Regions from separate parts of the Homo sapiens genome. Here region 1 is linked to region 2. The links are contacts of gene promoters, found by promoter capture Hi-C in blood cells and fetal thymus (Javierre and others, 2016). All regions are on one chromosome and are shown on one strand. The core of a region is centred on a gene start or on the middle of the fragment in contact, and the rest is flanking DNA. Distances in the headings are between cores, read along the strand shown. Region 1 overlaps IL19 (interleukin 19). Region 2 holds the start of DYRK3 (dual specificity tyrosine phosphorylation regulated kinase 3).

Region 1 (4,785 bases), core at 407-2,906, 170 kb before region 2:
GATGAATACAGTAAGCGCATTCAGTTTTTAAAATAAGATTTTACTTAAAGCCATTATATTTTCTACATATGGCTTCTGCTCCAAAAGAATCTGTTCATTATCTTTAGGAACTCCTGTTATGTGTAGGTTAGCTCTTTGATATCTGTATTTCACGTTTACTCTATTCTTTCATTTTCATTTCTTTATCTTTTGCTTTTGTGTTCTAGGAAATTTATCTTCAGTTTGCCTTTTACTCATTAATTCAGTTTTCTGCAGTGTCCATTTGTAAGCTATGGCTTCCATTTTGGAGTTTAATTCAATAACTGTGTTTTCCAGCCTGATAAAATATTTCTTCCATTTGGATTGTTTCCTTTTTATAATGGCTTGCTCTAGTCACACAGATGTAAATTGTTTTAGCATCTAGCATATGGCATTCTTTGATAAACAGAAAAAAGTGAATGAGGTTATTATTCATTTTTCAGCTCAATGATTTTCCTGAATCTATCACTTAACTCCCCTTAGCCTGCTTTGTCTTTATAGCCTCTACCACCTGGTATATATCTGTATCAAGACCTAGAGCAATGGCTGCACAAGTTGGCACTAAAATCTATTTATTGGACATGTAAACGGATCAGTACAGATGTGTTTTCACTCTTAATTTGCTCAAAGTCCCATTGAGAAGGTAAAACTAGCACAAAAAGGTAAATAACCATCCCAGGCAGCTAACTGAGAGCTATCAGAAACACATACATGACTAATAGCTAAATAAATTGTGCCGATACAGGTGTGTACTCTAGAAGCAGAGCCAGGTATGCAGACAGCAGGTAGCAGGTGATCATTTAGTGCTTGAATGATCAGAACAGTGTCCACAGAGGATCCAAGGATTGAAAGGAACTTCAAAGAAGGGTATGATTTAGAAAGGAAGGAGTCTGGTGGATTCTTCTAAAGAGCATTTCTCTGGGATTCAGATAATTTCACCCATGCAGTTAGCACCCATTCTATCCTTGAAAGATACAGCTGCTCTTCCTATAAGGTAAGAGAATTTCAGGTTTGAACAGAGAATTTTAGATTGAAAAATTCAAGCCCATTTTCTATTCTTCCACCCGCAAACAAAGGTGCGGAAAGCAGTTGAGGAAACAGGCTGAGGTGAGTTTCCTTGAAGCCTTGCTCTCTTGCATCTCTGTTTGATCCCTGGGTCATTCCCTCAGGCATCTCTGGTCAGAAACACTTTTAAACCCCAAATCTCATTCTCACTGGGTTTGCATTGTACCTGGAAAGATGCTGACACCAATAAAAGCTTGTTGCTTAAAGACACAGCCTATGACTCACACAATGCACACTTTATACACCCTAATTCCTTCCATCTGTAGTAACTTTCAGCTTCTCATTACCTAAATTATTTCAGTGCACTCAACCTGGGGGTTATTGTCATATAGGGAATCAAATGAGGTGCCAGAAACAGATAAAAATCAAGAAAACAACAATTTGAAAAGGTTATCATTGGCATCAGGGAATGTCTGTGTTGGAAAGGATCTCCAGGTTCATTAGCCCCCACTCCCAGCACAGGAACCCTCTTTGTCATGACTCGGACAGATGTTATCCAATTCTGCTTCATGACTTTCAAGACCTGGGTGCCACATTCTGCAGTTGTCATCTGCAAACTTGATAGGCAGGTGAATGTGGCAAGCAACCCATATTTAAATATACCTGAAGCCCTCCTGGAATTTACACAGCTACATCTTTCCCTGTACTGCCCTGCAAGAAGCGTGAGAGAAGAAGCTCTTCTGAGCCTCCTGCCTGTTACAGAGAGCAAGAAAGGGAAGGGAAGAGACAGGGCGAAGAGAGAAAGGATTACTTGATATTGTAGTGTTCAAGCTGGAATAATTTTCCCTCCCACCTTGCTGGAGTGCTTTCCAAGTGCTATTTCCTAGAGCAATGCCAGATTAGTTGTTCCAGAATTCCCAGGGGGCTTTGCACAGAGTCCCAGACCCTGTCCCTGAGAGTTGAATTTTGTACATCTGGGATGAAGCCTGGGCATCTCTATTTGTTAAAGCTTAGGATTATTTTGAAGTGCAGTCAGTTTGAAAGTCACTTTATTAGAGGGCTCTGGACTAGGTCACCCCATTCCTGGTGGTTGAAAAACCTCATTGCAAGCAGATCACTCCTATGTCCTCCAGCAGTTTTCTGTAAGCATGTTTTTGTGTTGCTGAAGGCAGCCCCATCAGCCCCCAGGGGAATAATCCTTTCCTGTTCTCTCCAGCCATGCTCTGTAGGATCACCTGAGGCCTGTGTCTGGGCCTCTTTATCGCAGCACAGTACAAGCATCCAGCTTGTACTCTTTGTTGTGGGCTGGCCAAGATGCTGACAGGAACAAAAATGACTTGTTTTTGAGAGTAAAGATACAAGCTTTGACTCAGATGACGCACACATGTTCATGGAGGGAGACTCTCACATCCGACCTACCTTCTTCCGTCCACAGAGAGTCACGTTGCTACTCTAACCACATCACTAATTCCGAAAGATGGGGACTCCTACACAGGGCCTCCAGGTCAATGCCTCTGATTAGGGCAGGGAACTGGAAGGCATCCAACCCCGACTTCCTGGCACCCCAAGTTCTCTCAGCAGCAACAGCGAAAGCCCATGGATGTAACTGCATTACAGAAGCCAAGGCCCTCAATGTGTAGACTCTCTGGGGTGCTATTTTAAAAGGCAGACTCTCAAGCCCCACAAAAAGATGTTTTGAAGATTGGAGTGAGGCCAGAAAATCCACCTTTTGAGCAAGCAGGACTAGGGAATTCTGAGTAAGACTAGTATTTGAACTTTACCCATTTGGGACTGAACCTCAAAGGAAAAAAGGGATCTGGAAAAGGAAATGACGTCCCCCTCGCCCTTCCAGGGCCACAGCTGCTTCTGTTCTTGAGATATTGGCCAGGCCCCTTATTTCTTTGACATTCCCCTTGCTTTCCTGTCCCCTCGTCTTCCTTAACAGTCCTTCTTATCTGCCAGAAGATTGGTCTTTCTTTAAGGCTAGCAGTTAGCCTTGATTGGGGATCCAGTTCTATACATGTGGGCATAGAGGACAGAGCAAGAAGACAGGACAAGTGAGCAGAACTATACAGGGAAGGGAGGGACAGTGTTGGAAGAGAAGCCCAGGCTTGGAACTTGCCCATGGCAAAAAAAAAAGAAAAAAAAAATTGAAAATTTGTACCCTCATTATGTCACCAGGAATTGAAATTAAGTATGACTCACGATTTACCCATGAAGCTCTTTCCCAATTAGTCTGGGTTGTGTCACCAAAAGACCTGAATTTAAGTCATGACTCCATCACTTATTGGCTTCGTGATCTTGGGAAAATTATTGAACTCTCTGACATTTAGTTTCCTTATCTGTAAAATAGGGGTAATCGCTTGATAAAGGTGCTGTTCGTTTTGATGAGGTAATATATAAAAATGCTTAGCCCAGGTTTTGGTACATGGAAGGCAGAAAAAAAAACCACCCAGATATTATGAATAATATAATTCTGTCATGTACACCTTTCCTCTCACAACCTACTGACTTACTGTAGGCACCAGGCAACCTGAATTACTAGGTGTTCTCTAGGGCCCCAATAAGCCATGTGTTTTAAAGTCTAATGGAATGGTCTAATCCCATCTCCATCACCAACTCATAAGCTGTGTGACCTTCCTTCCTGGGCCTCTGTTCCCTTCTCTATGGATCAGTGCCAATACATCAAGTTTCTGCAAAGGCCTGGTGCATTCACTGATGCACACAAGGAGCCCAGGACCATGCTGGGAGCCCCCTGTGCTGCAGCCTCCCCTTCCCCTCCTTTCCTGCAAGCTCCCATGTTTGTCCATGCCTTTCTATGGAGGTGCCTTCGTTCAAACTGTTTCTTCCACCCAAATGTCCCTTCCCTTTTTCTGCTCACTGGAGTTCTTCCCAAAGCTGCCTTCATCCTACCTCAATCCCAACAGTCAAGATACCCAGGTAATCACCCTTCATTGACAAACAGAGTATGTATTGTGAGTCTGTGATGTGTCAGGCACTGTTGCTCATGACCAGGGATATAGAGATGATTAAGGTCTAGTCCCCAAGAAATTCAGTCTACTTAAGAACATAAGAACAATATGAACATAAGAACAGATAACTGTCCTCCAAGGAAGTGGGGGTAATAATAGAAGTGACTCAAAAGTGCTGGGACAGCACAGAAGAGGGAGCTCTTGGGTCTGACTCAGGTGGGATGGAGAAGCCTTTATAGAGACACAGAACTTTGACCGGAAGGATAAGTGATGCTTGACAGGGAGAGAAGAGGGAGTAGTTTGTCTAAGACTGACCCAGAGCCATAGAGGTCTGAGATAGGCAGTTGGGCCAACAGTGCTGGAGGCTGACCAGGAATGGGGAGGGCACAGAGACAGAGCTGGAAAGAGACAAGGACCAGGTGCCAATGGCCTTGAGTCTGGCCAGGGAAAGGTCCAGGAAGTTGCCTCCATTCCACCCCCCGCCTCCAGGCACATGAGGACAGTGGAGAGCAGATCTGTCATCTCCAAGGAACATTCCAGAGCAGGAGCAGTCCATGGAAATCCCTCATCTCTAGTCCCACTCATATCATTGGCTAGAAGGCCATGGGCTACAGGCTTGTAATTCAAAGGACACAGGGGTCTGGAGGCAGACATCTGTGGTTTTTTTTTTTTTTTAAACTACGAATGGACAACTTTCTTTGATTTCTTAAATTCAATTGCAAAATTTAGAAAATCCCACTCTACTAGGGAGAGAGTGAAAGTTAGAAGATCCAGTGCTTTCTGAGGAAGG
Region 2 (4,783 bases), core at 1,623-4,122:
CTACTCAGGAGGCTAAGGCAGGAGAATCACTTCAACCCGGGAGGCAGAGGTTGCAGTGAGCCAAGATCATGCCATTGCACTCCAGCCTGGGTGACAGAGAGAGACTCCACCTCAAAAAAAAAAAAAAAAAAAAAAAAGCTAAGTGTCTGCAGTCCCCAAAATGATTAAGTGCATTAAAAACCAAACTGTTGTAGTTATCATCTATCTATAAAATGGTTCTCTTTAGTATACTAATAAACGAAGACTGCATTTCCACCGTGCAGGGGAAAAAAAACTCCTGCAGATCTATGAATTCTGACATGTTTTCTGTTTCTTATTTTTGTTAAAAGGAGCCTTTGTAATACTAGGTGTATATCATCCTATACAAAAATAAGCATTACCTAAATAAAAGTAGCATATTATTTTTTTCCTAGTGCTATATATTTATCCCAGTGGAAACTGAAATAAAAAGGTGAGCTCCAAACTGAAATCATTCTGAAAAGCTAAATTTGGACCACAGACATTGTTATTCCAAAGTCAAGAGAAATCAAAAATAAACCAAAAAAAAGTCTGGTTGTCAGTGATACATAAGTGTACCTTGAGCATTAAGTAGCACTTCCTCCTTTCCAAAACAATTCATGTACAAAGAATGACTTCTTTTACTTACATTTAGTCTTCTGGGTGGAGGTGGTTCAGAAGGATTGCAGAGTACATTTGAACAGGGGGGACATTTGGTTTCATCTATCATCATGAAGGTGTCATAGACACCATCCCCCAACCTAGTTAAAAGGATTACAGACAAAATCTGTCAGGAACTGAAGAATATAGAATCCTATGTCTTAACTGCTTCATATCTGCTACAAGGAACAGTAATAGAAATAAATGTCTACACTACATTTTGGCACTGAATACAAACAACTGGGGTATTTGGAAGAGGTACAGAGGAAATCCAACTTTTGTTTTTCAAGGACAGCATTTCTAGGTTTGTATTTTAAAACAGTTGAAACAAGTCCTTCTGAATGTTGTTAAACACAATAAGGACTATCAGAAGGATCTCATAATAACTTACTACTTGAAAATAAAGGCTAGTTTGAAACTGAAGCTCACAGAGAAAAAAACAGACCAGAAAAAACTAACAGAGGTAATAGTTTCTCAAGTCAGAGACTTGGATTCTAATCTCAGCTCTAACACTGGCTGTGCTACCTTCTCCTCTGAGCCTGTCTTCCCCAGTGCTACCTTCTCCTCTGAGCCTGTCTTCCCCATGTTAATGGGAAGACTAGCTCCAGTCTTCACACTTCTGGGTCTTACAGGCAAGAAATAAAAGGCCTTTTTAAGGCTGTCTTCTCTTTATTCATTTACTTACTTACCTACTTACATCTACCTAACCTGCAGAAAAATACAGTAAGTACTACAGCAAACGCTAAAAGGATGCTCTAAATTATAAAATGTATTGAATTTACTTCTCTTTCCACTTCATTTTCTGGTGGATGGTGGAGGCAAAATTCTAAATGATTAAGGATCACTTCTCTGTTCTTTAACACTGTGGCTCCACCACTGTAAGGGAACACAAAAGACGGAGAGGATTTATTTAATCCACAAGATGGCCCTGAATAATGTATTTCATCTGCTACCAAGAACACGGATTTCCCAGTTACACACATCAGCATTTCATTGTATCATTTTACATGATACACTATGAATATAACAATGATGATGTTGCAGAGGAATAATTTTTTAACGTCTTTTAAAATATCCTGGAATATTCTGGTCACCTTAAAAACTGTTTTGTGAAATTCATTCTAGAGTTTTCTTTATAGATGTGTTATAAAAATATAAAGGGAAAAAAACCGCTACAAATATTTTTGGAATGCTCTTTTTAAAAACATGCTCACATTCTGATAGAATTATTTATATTTTTAACAGGGAATGGCTTCACCAACAGAAACCAAATATTCTGGATGTGACTGACCCTTTGCCATAAGCCTGATAAAACAAACCAGGATAGGCGTCCACATATATAAAGAAAAAGAAAACGTGCAAAATTGCCTAGTGACTAACAGCCAGAGGAAATTAACAAGAGTCTGCATGCAAATAAAGCGGGGAGCAAGGGTCTCTTCTCTCCATTTAGGTGTAAAATACAACGCAAGGTGGGGAATCTCTCAAAATAGGATCCGGAGAAAGCCGTACCCAGCATAGCCCATAACCTGTACATTCGAAGCTAGACCGCACCCCTCACAGCAAACCCCAAGAGTTCAGCCGTTGGTTATCCGCTCTAAGCAACAGGGCTTCTTTCCAAGGTATTGCTCCCGGGCTCCCCCCCTTTAATAAAAAGCCCCACAAAAAGTCCTAGATTTTCGTAATCCCTTAACATATACCCCGATCTAGGGTTTCAGAGGGAATCCAGGGGTGGAAATTCTTCTTGCTCTAACTCCGCTCTAGCCCCGTCCCCCGCGCCCGGTGAGACAGGGATGGGGGGAGGGGGCCCTGATAGAGAGGAGGTGGGGGCGGTCCCGGGGAGGCAGTCAGACCCCTGCCCTCGTCCCTCCTACTGAGGGCTCACTCTACCTCCTCCCCACCCCCAAGCTTCGCTTGCCAGCGCCAGCCGCTCCCTGTGGCGCCTCCAGCCCGTTACCCCGTGGCGCCGTTACCTCCGCTGCTGGGGCGGGAGCCCGGCCCCAGGCGGCCCCGCATCCTTCCGCCCAGGCCCACGAGCTGTGCCTCCCATCTCCTAGCTCGGGACCCCGCGCGGGGAGAGGCGCCAGTTGGGGGTCCGGTCGGCCACGCCACCTACGCCGGGACGGCTGCCTCCGCGGCGCGACGCTCCCACGGGTACTCTCGACCAGACACTGCAGCTCAGCGCACTTTCGCTCCCGACTGGCCCCGGCTGGGAAGTGGGGAGACGCAGCTCCAGGGGCGGGAGGGGGAGCGGTCTGGTCGCCTAGCAACCGCGGCACGCCCCCGGGAAACGCCTCGGCGCAGCTACGGGCTGACGCACAGGGGCGGGGCCCGTGGCCGGTAAAGGCCACGCGGCGCTCCTAGCGGGTGCTAGTACTGGCGCGGGAGGCGGGAGGTTGGAGGCGAGGAGCTCGCGGCCTAGGCTGTTTGGGTCCCTGGCGCGAGCTGTAGACGGAGAGAGGGGTCCGGAGAAGGAGGGGTGAAAGTAGCAGTTAGCCCGCGATCTCAGAAGGGCTGCCCGCCCCTCACGGTCCCTTAATAGCACGTTGCGTCCTGGAAGTTCTAAAACGTCCCGCTTCAATATGAATTTTAAATTAGTGAAAACATATGTGTATTGTTTTAGGCTTTCCCACCGCGGGGACGGCCCTCCGGGGGTTGGTGAGTTACATAAGAAAGCAATAATAATAAACCCATTTATTGACACGATGCTTCCATTTATGAACATTTGATCTCAGTAACGGAGGTACCCGACGACTTTCGTCTTTTACAGACTTAGCTGGGATGCAGAATAGAAGCTGGGCCTTTGTCTGACTACCCTGCAACAGTCAGCCACAGACGGGAAGGCAGCGCAGGAAACTGAGGCCAAAGGAGCCGCGCTTCCTCATGAGCATGAAGCGGCAAAGCCTGAACTAGAAGCTTCTAACGCCTAACCGTCCTCTTGCCGCACCAGGACCTACCTCTGCAAGGCCCTTCCTGACTTTTTCCTTAGAATGTGTGTATATGTGTCTTTTTCCTTTTCTGATGCTAAGACACCTCAGAAACACCAATGTTAAGCAGATTTCCATCGTTGGAGGTTAAAACACCCGAATACAAGTGTTTTCTTGAGTGTGGCATCTGGTCAGATGTTTTATGGGTTGGTTTGTTTTTAAAAAAAAAAAATTTCCTGTTAGATGGGTGGTAAGAACCAGTCAGAGTTTGTAAACCCACCAAGCACGAGGCGGTCGGACCGTCCAGATTCTGGAGTCCAGAAGACACCAAACGTTCTCAGAATGCCGAACGCGGGCGCCACCTGGTGGGACTAGAACGCTTATTGTCCCAAATCAGCATAGCACACAGTTCCCATAAATCTTAAAAATTCCCATCCAAGGCTCATTTCCGTGTGACTAAAAGTCATATTCTCTGTTCTCGTGACTCCAAGTAAAAATGTCCCTAAAGAGCCAAAGTATCTTCACTGTATAAACTAATAATCTATTGGTTTGGGGAATTTTATTTTTTGTGATCAATGTTACTTTAGCCTTTCTATGATATACATATAAATAAAAAAGTTTTCTTCCATGATGATTTTTTAAAGTTTATTTTATAAATAAACTTTTTCTTTTTGTCTCTCCCTTCCCCCACTTTGCAACCAGAGCAATTCTGCTTTCACAGGGGTTTGTATTTGGGCTCTTACGAAGCTTTTGTTTGAAGAAAGAGTTCCATGGCAACGCAAAGATTGGACGAGGTTACTGTTGAAGTCCCTTCCAGCTCTAAGATTGCAAAATTCTATTAAATAATCCCCGTTCTCAGTACTTATGTAGACACCTCAGACCACTTTACTGCCCTCCCTAAACAGTTGAATGAGACTTGCCCCCACATGATTTCTTACCTCATTCTGAATCACTGCTCGTGAGAGGATTGCATCCGCAGTCTGTGCTTAAGACACATCTTCCAGAGCCAAGTGGAAGGGTTCCTGCTCCCTTTCTTGCTCCTAAGGTGGGAAATACAGAGGCCGCCTTTGTCTTTCGCCTATTGTTCCCATGGTCAAGGGAAAGAGGACTCCTCGAGGGTGCTGGAGCTTCATAAATCTCTGACCTTAGTGACCCAATGTTTCTTCAAAGATCCCCTGTATGATGGGGTTAACGTCCCATAA

What was found. The method cuts DNA at HindIII sites, captures the fragments that hold promoters and counts their contacts. A CHiCAGO score of 5 or more calls a contact.
Region 1: a contact is called between a fragment that was not itself captured here and the fragment with the promoter of DYRK3 in region 2, in 1 of 17 cell types (M2 macrophages). The highest score is 5.2, in M2 macrophages.

Annotation. Positions count from the first base shown.
Region 1 is chr1:206,801,055-206,805,839 of GRCh38, reverse strand. All of the region lies in intron 2 of IL19 (interleukin 19), which reads right to left. Among named protein-coding and RNA genes, the nearest start is that of IL10, 31 kb to the right of the region's middle. RefSeq lists an enhancer at 2,613-2,662. The HindIII fragment of the contact is 756 bases long and covers 1,279-2,034 here.
Region 2 is chr1:206,633,625-206,638,407 of GRCh38, reverse strand. It overlaps DYRK3 (dual specificity tyrosine phosphorylation regulated kinase 3), which reads right to left and starts at 2,872. Exons shown (of 3, transcript NM_003582.4): 1 at 2,628-2,872; 2 at 647-758. The coding sequence starts at 2,704. It overlaps DYRK3-AS1 (DYRK3 antisense RNA 1), which reads left to right and starts at 2,740. Exons shown (of 2, transcript NR_183645.1): 1 at 2,740-2,808; 2 at 3,425-4,212. RefSeq lists silencers at 2,433-2,542, 2,593-3,012. The HindIII fragment of the contact is 1,008 bases long and covers 2,565-3,572 here.